2 separate regions of the Homo sapiens genome follow, and region 1 is linked to region 2. Evidence: promoter capture Hi-C in 16 types of primary human blood cells and fetal thymus (Javierre and others, 2016). All regions are on one chromosome and are shown on one strand. Each heading gives the region's core, a stretch centred on a gene start or on the middle of the fragment in contact. The rest is flanking DNA. Distances are from core to core; before and after follow the strand shown.

Region 1 (5,133 bases), core at 1,999-4,498, 330 kb before region 2:
TCCATTCTTTTTTTTTTTTTTTTTTTTTAGATGGAGTCTCGCTTTGCCACCCAGGCTGGAGCACAGTGGCAAAATCTTGACTCACTGCAACCTCCGCCTCCCAGGTTCAAGCATTTCTCCTGCTCAGCCTTCTGAGTAGCTGGGACTATAGGTGCCCACCACAATGCCTGGCTAATTTTTGTATTTTTAGTAGAGCCGGGGTGTCACCATGTTGGCCAGGCTGGTATCGAACTCCTGATCTGCCCACCTCAGACTCCCAAAGTGCTGGGATTACAGGTTTGAGCCACCTGGGATCACCGTGCCCAGCCATACTTTGCCCATTCTTTAACTGGGTCATTTGTTTGCCTGCTGTTGAGTTCCTTACATATTGTAGATATTATCCCCTCATCAGATGTATCGTTGTCAAATATTTTCTCCTATTCCGTAGGTTGTCTCTTCACTCTTTTGATTGTTGCCATTGCTATGTAGAAACAGTTTGGTGTAATCCCATTTGTTGATTTTTGCTTTTCTTGCTTGGGCTTTTAGGCTCATATCCAAAAAACCATTGCTTAGACCAATGTCATGGAGCTTTTCTACTTTGTTTTCTTCTAGTGGTTTTACAGTTTTAGTTCTTACATTTAACTCTTTGATCGACTTTGAATTTATTTTTGCAGATGGTGTGAAAAAAAGTGAAATTTCATTCTTCTGCATGTGAATATCTAGTTTTCCTGACAGCATTTGTTGTAGAAACTGTTCTTTCCCCACTGTGCGTTATTGGCAACTGTGTTGAAAATCAATTGACCATAAATGGGTGGGTTTATTTCTGGGCTATCTATTATGTTTCATTGGTCTATGTGTCTGTTTTTATACCTATAAAATACTGTTTTGATTAGTATGGATTTGTAGTATATTTTGAAATAGGTAGTGTGAGGCCTCCAACTTTATTCTTTTTGCCCAAGATAGCCTTGACTATTTAGGGTCTTTTGTGGCTCCATATAAATTTAGAATTGCTTTTTCTGTTTCTGTGAAAAAACATGTCACTGGAGTTTTGATAAGGATTGCATAGAGCCTGTGGATCATTTTGGGTGGCATAGACATTTTAACAATATTAATTCTTCCAACCCATGATGAATATGGGATATCTTTCCATTTATTTGTGTCTTCTTTAATTTCTTTCATCAGTGTTTTATGGTTTTCAATGTATGAGTCTTTCACTTCCTGGGTAATATTTGTTTCTAAGTATTTTTTTTAATGCTAAGTATCATAAATGGGATAGTTTTCCTGATTTTTTTCCCTGAGATAGTTCATTGTTAATGTGGAACTTTACTGATTGTTGTATGTTTATTTTGTATCCTGCTGCTTTACTGAATTTACCTGTTAGTTCTGACAGATTTCTTGAAATTCTTTCTTAAATGGACACATAATGAATGTACTTACTTACGGGGTAGAATGCAGTGTTATTCATAAAATCAAATGAACTAGCATGCCTCACACATTTATCATTTATTTGTAGTAGAAACATACAGGATGTATGATGCCAACAATAAGGTATTATATATCTCAAAAAGCTAACAGTTTTTTTGGTAGAGACTTTAGGGTTTTCTATGTATAATAGCATGTCATCTGCAAATAGCAACAATTTCACTTCTACCTTTCTAACTTGGATGCCGTTTATCTCTTTCTCTTGCTTAACTGCTCCGGCCAGAACTTCCAGTGCTATGTTGAATGGAAGTGGCAAGAGTAAGCATTCTTTCTTCATTCCTGCTTCTAGAAGGAAAGCTTTTAACTTTTCACCATTAAGTATGATATTAGCTATGGGTTTGTCATATATGACTTTTATTGTGTTGAGGTACATTGCTTCTATACCTAATTTGTTGAGAGCTTTTATCATAAAGGATGTTAAACCTTGTTAAATGCTTTTTATGCATCTATGGAGATGATCATATGGTTTTTGTCCTTCATTCTGTTACTGTAGTGTGTATTACATTTATAGATTTGTGTGTGTTGAATCATCCTTGCATCTCTGTGACAAATTCCATGTGATCATGGTGAATAATCTTTTTAATGTGCTGTTGAATTTTGTTTGCTAGTATTTTGCTGAGGATTTTTGCATTTATGTTCATCAGAGATATTGGCCTGTAATTTTCTTTTCTTGTAGTATCCTTGTCTGGCTTTGGCATCAGGGTAATGCTAGCCTCATAAAACGAATTTGAAAGTATTCCTTCTTCTTTAATTTATTTGAAGAGTTTGAGAAGGTTTAGTTTTTAAAATGTTGGTAGAATTCTTCAGTGAAGCCATCTGGAAACTGGATTAACTGGGATAGGACTGGAGCCTGAATACAAAGGAGCTGGTCTAGTGCTGGGGTGGCCCTAGGTCTGCAGGGTCCTGGGGCCTGGGTCTACCAGGGATAGCCGGAGCCTGTGTCTGCAGGGGTAGTCCTGGAGCCTCAGGTTGCAGTGACTGACCTGGAACTGGAGTTCACTTGGGTGAGCATGGATCCTGGGTTCACTGGAGTCTGAAGTTCGTGGGACTAGACTGAAGCCTAAGGCTAGCCTGGTGCTGGGGCAGGCATAGAGCCTGGGTTTGCAGGGGTGTGTCTGGAGCCTGGGATTGTGGATACTGGCCTGGAGCCTGGTCCATAGGGGATAGTCTGGAAGCTGGGTATGCAGTGCTGGCCTGGAGGCTAGGTCTTCGAGGGGTGGCCTGGGTCATGGGGCCATGGAGGCAGTCCTGGAGCCTGTGTCCATGGATGCCAGGTTGGTGCGTGATGACAGGGTGCCAACTTAGGGCTGGGGCAGGCTGAAGCCTGGGGCTGAAGGGGTGAACCTGGCTCTGGGCTTGGCTGGACCCTGGAGTAGTCCGGGAGGCTGGTCCATGGGTACTGGCCTGATGATGTAGGGCTGTGGAGCCAGCCTGGTGCTGGGGCAGATTGAAGCCTAGTGCTGGGAGTGGCTCAAAGTCTGGGTCAATTGGGGCTGGCCTGATACTGGGGAAGGCCCAGAGACAGTCTGTGAGGCTAGCCTGGAGCCTGAGAATGTGAGGAGAGGCAGAGAGCCTGGGTTTGTAGAGGTTGGCCTGTGCTAGGGCAGGCCTGAGGCCCATGGCCACTGGGGCTGGCCTGGTGGTGGGGCTGGCCTGGAGACCAAGCCTTCCAGGAAGGCCTGGAGCTTGAGGATGCAGAATCCAACCCAGTGCCTTGGTGGACCTGGCAGCTCAGTCTGCTGATGCCAGCCTGGACTTTGGGGTCATGGGGGCCTTCTTGGTGCTGGGTTTCACTGGGGTCGGGTAAAGGGCTGGTGCTGGGGTCCAAGGGAGGGTCCAGTGTTCACTTCCCTGTCCCACCTGGTGGAGGTGTCTCTTGCCAGACTGTGCTGCAGAATGTGGCATGTATGCTTAAGAAGAATATATATTCTTCTGCTGTTGGGTGAAAAGTTTTGTATATGTCTGTTAAGTTTATTTGGTGTATAGTGTTATTCAAGTTTCCCATTTCTTTATTAATTTTTTGTCTTCCACGAGTAGTATTCCATGGTGTGTGTATGTGTGACATTTTCTTTATCCAGTCATCTATTGATGGCCACTTAGGTTGATTCCATATCTTTGCTATTGTGAATAGTGCTGCAATAAACATATAAGGGCAGGTATCTTTTTGATATAACAATTTATTTTCTTTTACGTAGATACGAGGTAGTGGGATTGCTGGATTGAATTGTAGTTCTATTTTTAGTTCTTTGAGAAATCTCCATACTGTTTTCCACAGAGGTTGTACTAATTTACATTCCCACTAACGGTGTGTAAGGGTTCTTTTTTCTCTATATCCTCACCAACAGCTGTTATTTTTTGTCTTTTTTTTTTTGTTTTTTTTGAGATGGAGTCTCACTCTGTCACCCAGGCTGGAGTGCAGTGGCACAATCTCAGCTCACTGCAACCTCCACCTTCCAGGTTCAAGCAATTCTTCTGCCTCAGCCTCCTGAGTAGTTGGGACTACAGGTGCGTGCCACCATGCCTGGCTAATTTTTTTTATTTTTATTAGAGACGGGGTTTCACCGTGTTAGCCAGGATGGTCTCGATCTCCGGACCTCGTGATCTGCCTGCGTCAGCCCCCGAAAGTGCTGAGATTACAGGCGTTGAGTCACCATGCCCGGCTTGTCTTTTTAATGATAGCTATTCTGGCTAGTGTAAGATGATTTCTCATTGTGGTTTTAACTCGCATTTCTCTGATGATCAGTAATGTTAAGCATTTTTTCATATGTCTGCTGGCCATCTGAATATCTTCTTTTGAAAAATGTCTATTCATGTCCTTTTTCCACTTTTTTTTTTTCCCCGAGATAGAGTTTTGCTCTTGTTGCCCAGCCTGGAGTACATTGGCATAATCTTGGCTCACTGCAACCACCTCCCAGATTCAGGCGATTCTCCTGCCTCAGCCTCCTGAGTAGCTGGGATTATAGGCATGCGCCACTACGCCTGGCTAATTTTTGCATTTTTCATAGAGACGGGGTTTCTCCATGTTGTTCAGGCTGGTCTCAAACTCCTGACCTCAGGTGATCCACCCGCCCCAGGCTCCCAAAGTGCTAGGATTACAGGCATGAGCCACCATGCCCAGCCTTTTTCCACTTTTAAACAGGACTATTTATTATTTTTTTGTTGGATTGTTTGAGTTCCTTGTAAATTCTGGATATTAGTCCCCTGAAACATAAGTATTTCCTCCCATTATTCAAGTTGTCTCTTCACTCTGTTGATAATTTTGCAGTGCAGAAGCTTTTAGTTTAATTAAGTTCAGTTTGTGTGTTTTTCTTTTTGTTACTTATGGTTTTTTGTGTGTGGTTTTTTTTGTTTGTTTGTTTGTTTGTTTGTTTGTTTGACAGAGTTTCACTCTGTCGCCGAGGCTGGAGTGCAGCTGCATGATCTTGGCTCACTGGAACCTCCACCTCCCAGGTTCAAGCAATTCCCTCCCACGTAGCTGGGATTACAGGCAAGTGCCACCATGCCCAGCTAATTTTTGTATTTTTAGTAGAGACTGGGTTTCGCCATGTTGGCCAGGCTAGTCTTGAACTCCTGACCTCAGGTGATCCACCCACCTCAGCCTCCCAAAGTGCTGGGATTACAGTTGTGAGCCACCACACCCAGCCTTGCCTGTGCTTTTGAGCTGTTAGTCAT
Region 2 (5,603 bases), core at 1,051-3,550:
TTGGATGTTAGGTACCATGCTCCCTCCCCACTCAGGACATGCTGCTCCTTCTTTCCAGAAAATTATTTTCCCATCATAATCAAGTTAACTCTTACTCTAGATCTCAGCTAAATACACACTTCCTCAAAAAAAAAGTTTCCCAGCTGGCCTCAACGGCTCATGCCTATAATCCTAGCATTTTGGAAGACCGAGGCGGGAGGCCTGGGCAACACAGAGAGACCCCAACTTAAATTTTTGTTAAAAAATTTCCCTTGGCCGGGCACAGTGGCTCATGCCTGTAATCCCAGCACTTTGGGAGGCGAGGCAAGCAGATGAGTTGAGGCCAGGAGTTCAAGACCAGCCTGGCCAACATGGCAAAACCCCGTCTCTACTAAAAATACAAAAATTAGCTGGGTGTGGTGGTGAATGCTTGTAACCCCAGCTACTCCGGAGGGTGAGGCAGGTGAATCACTTGAACCCAGGAGGTGGAGGTTGCAGTAAGCCAAGACTGTGCCACTGCACTCCAGCCTGGGTGACAGAGGGAGACTCCATCTCAAAAAAAAAAGTTTCCCTTGATTCCACTGATTAGCTCAATTCTCCTTCTAAAAGTCCTCATATTAAATAACATGTACCCCTCTACAGCAATTGAAATAGTTCCAACTTTGCATTTATTTGTATGATTTGATCAATATCCTTCCCTAATATAAGTTCCAAAAGACCAAGACCCTTGTTTGTTTTTGCTCACTATCCCAATGAGCACATAGGTAGCAACAGGTATTTGTAGAAGAAACTGGCAAACCATTGGTAAAAAAGAGATAACAAACACGGAGTTAATGACAACTGCACGGTTCAAGCGATTTTCTTGCCTCCGCCTCCCGGATAGCTGGGATTATGGCCACACCACCCCCACGCCCAGCTAATTTTTGTATTTTTAGTAGAGATGGGGTTTCAACATGTTGGCCAGGCTGGTCTTAAACTCCTGACCTCAAGTGATCCACCTGGCTCGACTTCCCAAAGTGCTGGAATTACAGGCGTGAGCCACCACGCCCAGCCCAAGGATCACTTTTGAGGCCAGGAGTTTGAGAGCAGCCTGGGCAACATAGGGAGGCCCTGCCTCTATTTAAATAAATATGTTTTTAAAGTACTTAGTCTTCAAACCTTGTTTTATTTTTGTCCTCTATTCAAACCAGTACCTGAATTTAGACAACATTACAGAAATGTTGTGATTAGGCCATTTGTATTTTGAAACCCGAAATTTAAAGAAAAAAAAAAAGAAAAGAAAAGAAGTGTTCAAGTTTATCTCAGTCAGAGAGAGACTGTGTTTGTGTGAGATAAGGCGAAGTGGGGTAGAAGGGCCTTCCAGGATTAAGTCCACGAGGAAGGTGACGGTTTGGGAGAATCTGAAGTTTCAAATAAGGAGTTGTCGGTTGGGATCAAACTGTGGGGATCCAAGAATGCCAGGCTAAGAAACCAGGATATTTTATTTTCTGATAAAAAGAGGATGCTTTTTTGGCAAATTTCTGCTTCGGAGTGAAGATGCTGCACTAGATGGGAAGGAGAAGAGGAGAAATGGAAAGAAGAAAAGGTGAGTTCCAAGGACAGAAACACTCCCTCTTTGGACTCCCCCCAATTTCATGGACTCTCTCCCGCAAAAAAACACACAAGAACTTCCTGCCTTGTTTCCTTGTTTTGTGACATCATTGCAATCTCTTGATTTTTTTCATCCCTCGGATTCCTTAGCATCCTTCAAAAGTAATGTTCCTGCAGTCTCGCAGAAGGCCGAAGGATGGAGAATTTCTAGTCCAGGCCAGGGACACTCAGAAGAGAGAAAAAAAAAAGAACAAAAAAAGACCCAAGCAGCTTCACAGGGCCTCATCTGGTCCAATTTCTTCTCATGATGCATTCATTCACTCATAAATATCTTTTGAGCACCTACTATGTGTTGGGTAGATCTAGGGATAAAATCAGGGTTAAAAATACAGTCGCTGGTCTCACAGCAAAAAAGGCACCTGAGGCCCAGAGAGGGCCACTGACTTGCCAAAAGTCACAAGCTAAAACTTCTGTGGCCGAACCGCGTCTCGAACACAACTGGCGGAGGCCCACGGCGCCTGCAGCCCAGCTGCAGAATGCTACAAAGCAACGGGGGCCGGTGCCGGGGCGTCCGAAGCAGCGCCGAGGCCGGAGAGAGCGACAGTCAGTTTCCTAACTGCGCGGCGGACGCCGAGGCCGGCGCCTGTTCTTGAAAGATGTCCCTCTGCAGCCGCGGTAGCCCAGCCGGAAGTGCCGCCTGCCACGTCCACCGTGCGGCAGGGGCGGGGCTGGGATCCAAAAGCTCGGCATGGCTGACGACGCGGGTTTGGAGACCCCGCTGTGTTCCGAGCAGTTCGGCTCCGGGGAGGCACGGGGCTGCCGCGCCGCCGCGGACGGGAGCCTGCAGTGGGAGGTCGGGGGCTGGCGCTGGTGGGGGCTCTCCAGGGCCTTCACGGTCAAACCTGAAGGACGAGATGCGGGCGAAGTGGGGGCTTCCGGGGCCCCCTCACCGCCCCTCTCCGGGCTCCAGGCCGTGTTCCTGCCTCAGGGCTTCCCTGATAGCGTCAGCCCGGACTACTTGCCCTACCAGCTGTGGGATTCCGTGCAGGTCAGCTCGGTCGTCTGGGGCAGAGGACAGTGCAGGCCACTCCTCCCTCCCCAATAATGGACGGGTGACTGAGACTCGGAGCCCGGGGGGCGGGGGGTCTGACATGCCTCATACACCAAGAACAAGAACAGATGAAGGCACTTAGACCGCCACGCTCCTACGCCCGCTTCTCACCCTACTTGTTTTCTTCTCCAGGCGTTTGCTTCCAGCCTCTCCGGCTCCCTAGCCACCCAGGCAGTCTTGCTGGGCATAGGGGTGGGGAACGCAAAAGCCACTGTTTCAGCTGCCACGGCCACCTGGCTCGTGAAAGGTGAGCTGCACCCCTGGAGCCTCACGTATTGCTGCTTTCAGCCCTGCTTTCGCTGGGCTCTTATGTGTATATATGTATGGACTCGTGCCCCATTAGGTAGAATTCAGGCAGGTCTCCCCAGTGATTAGAGTGGTGCTTTGTAACCCAGTCTTACTTCCCACATCTGGAAGACCCTCATCCCACTCACCAGCCTAGCAGCCGCACTCCATTCCCCACACAGACTTCTGAGTCTCAATCATCTGGATCCCAAATCCCGTCCCCTCCCCTTTATCCCTATTCTCTTTGTGGAAGATTGCATAAGAATGCAATTGATGGAATAAAACTGCCAGCTGCCCAGGATAGGGGAAATTGGTGAGCTCCAGAAAAAAAAGATATAGTTGGTCCTGAGAAGGAGAGAGGAGAGCCTGGAAAGAATGGAAGGTATTGTGTATGCTCTGGGATACCAGATGATGCTGTAAATAATAGAGTGACTATCTGCTGAATATGTACAGCTTTTAAAAAATTGTTTAAGGAAAAAAAATACAGTTTGGTACCATGCCACCCAGAGAGGGAAATAGAACAGAAAAGGGAAATTGTTACATGTTCTACACGAGGAGGCCCCATGGCTTTTGCCACTGTCCTTTGTCTTTCACTACTGCTCGCAGGGGATATTTATTAGGCTGGTGCAAAAGTAATTGCGGGGTTTCTTTGTCGTTATTGCCATTAAAGGTAATGGAAAACCCGCAATTACATTTGAGCCAACCTAATAGATCTAAGGAAAAGCGCTTTCCATTCGTAGCATCAGTCTGGCCACATCCCTTGTGAGCCTCTCTGGATTTTTTTGAGAAAACAGGAGCTTCCTGTTTACACCTTTACCATTAAGACTGAGAAAACTGGGCCGGGCACGGTGGCTCACGCCTTTAATCCTCGTACTTTGGGAGGCTGAGGCATCCTGGGCAACATAGGGAGACCCCCATCTCTATTTTTTTTTTTCCAGACTCGTAGTCTCACTGTCACCCAGGCTGGGATGCAGGAGTGCAGTGGCACAATCTCAGCTCACTGCAGCCTCCTCCTCCCGGGTTCAAGCGATTCTCCTGCCTCAGCTTCCCAAGTAGCTGGGATTACAGGCATGTGCCACCCTGCCCCGCTAATTTTTTGTATTTTTAGTAGAGACAGAGTTTCACCATGTTGGCCAGGCTGGTCTCGAACTCCTGACTTCGGGTGATCCATTCGCCTCAGCTTCCCAAAGTGCTGGGATTATAGGCGTGAGCCACTGCGCCCGGCTTGTTGGCCGTATTTTTGGAATGCATTTGGAGCTTGGGTCAGTAGTTTTTGTTTTCATGTGATGTCACCAACATGTTGCCTATACAGATTGAATATCCCTTATCCAAAATGCTTGCAACCAGAAGTGTTTTGGATTTTGGAATTTTTTTTGGATTTTGGAATATCTTCATGTATATAATGAGATTTGTTGGGGATCAGACTCAAGTCTAAACATGAAATTCGTTTATGTTTCATATATACTTTATACACATACCTTAAAGGCAGTTTTATACAGTATTTTCAATGGTGTGCATGAAACAAAGTTTGTGTTCATTGATCCATCAGAAAGCAAAGATGTCACTGTCTCAGCCACACGTGGACAATCTGGTTGGTTAGCGTCCCCATCGTTCCTGACTCTGAATGTATATGCTACCAAGAAGCAGTCATTTTCTTATACCTATTCACACAGAAGTACTTAACAGTATAAAACATGATATACCACTAATACAGTGAGAAATTGTGTGTTCAGGGTAACTAAGCAGCACAGCAGATCACCAGAACACCTGTATCAGCTTCTGAACCATAGCAGCAGCAACAAAAACGGCAGGCTGTCAGTCTTCAGCTGTTTTGGTGAAAAGGTTACTGGACACCATATTTTATTTTTTTAAGGTGAGAAGAAACATTAGAAGCAGTTGAAGGACAGGAAGCGGGTCCTCTAGGGATGAGGAAGTGTTCTGCTGGATGGCTTTTTAAAATGTTTCCTCCAGAGTCATTTGCCTCATTAACTGTGGTTTCTATCTTAGAAGTCTCTCTTGGATTCTATAAACTGCCTGATTTCTTGTTCCGTTATGAATGTATGCTGCTCTAGTGCCACAGTAATCCCCTCCCACATCCTCACCGTGCTGTCTATAGGCACTTTTTCTGTAGTGGTAACAGTATCCTCTTCATTGTCACTGTTACCATGATTGCCTTGATTCAGAACTGAAGGAGGCCAGCCCTTCCACACTGTGGGTATTTCTCATCAGGTGGGACGAGAGACTGAGAAAAGAAATAAGACACAGAGACAGAGTATAGAGAAAGAACAGTGGGCCCAGGGGACCGGCACTCAGCATGCGGAGGACCAGCACCAGCACTGGTCTCTGAATTCCCTCAGTATTGATTACTATTTTCACTATCTCGGCAAGGGGAATGCGGCAGGAGAACAGGGTGATAGTGGGGAGAAGGTCAGCAGGAAAACATGCGAGCAAAGGAATCTGTCACAAATAAGTTCAAGGGAAGGTACTGTGCCCGGATGTGCACGTAGGCCAGACTTATGCTTCTCTCCACCCAGACATCTCAGTGTAGCAGAGTAGCAGAGCAGCATTGCCGCCAGCATATCTCTCCTAATCCTCCTCAGCACAGACCCTTTACAGGTGTCGGGCTGGGGAACAGTCA

Evidence for each region. Contacts are between HindIII fragments. The CHiCAGO score rates a contact against its expected background, and 5 or more counts as called.
Region 1: a contact is called between a fragment that was not itself captured here and the fragment with the promoter of RUSF1 in region 2, in 1 of 17 cell types (M0 macrophages). The highest score is 5.0, in M0 macrophages.

The regions. Positions count from the first base shown.
Region 1 is chr16:31,837,497-31,842,629 of GRCh38, reverse strand. No RefSeq gene overlaps it. Among named protein-coding and RNA genes, the nearest start is that of ZNF267, 34 kb to the left of the region's middle. The HindIII fragment of the contact is 2,976 bases long and covers 1,761-4,736 here.
Region 2 is chr16:31,505,088-31,510,690 of GRCh38, reverse strand. RUSF1 (RUS family member 1) reads left to right here and starts at 2,300. Exons shown (of 13, transcript NM_022744.4): 1 at 2,300-2,617; 2 at 2,813-2,927. The coding sequence starts at 2,318. RUSF1-DT (RUSF1 divergent transcript) reads right to left here and starts at 2,227. Exons shown (of 2, transcript NR_186401.1): 1 at 1,655-2,227; 2 at 1,125-1,518. RefSeq lists enhancers at 1,750-2,319, 1,884-2,598, 2,599-3,314 and silencers at 2,420-2,469, 2,530-2,589. The HindIII fragment of the contact is 29,640 bases long and covers 1-5,603 here.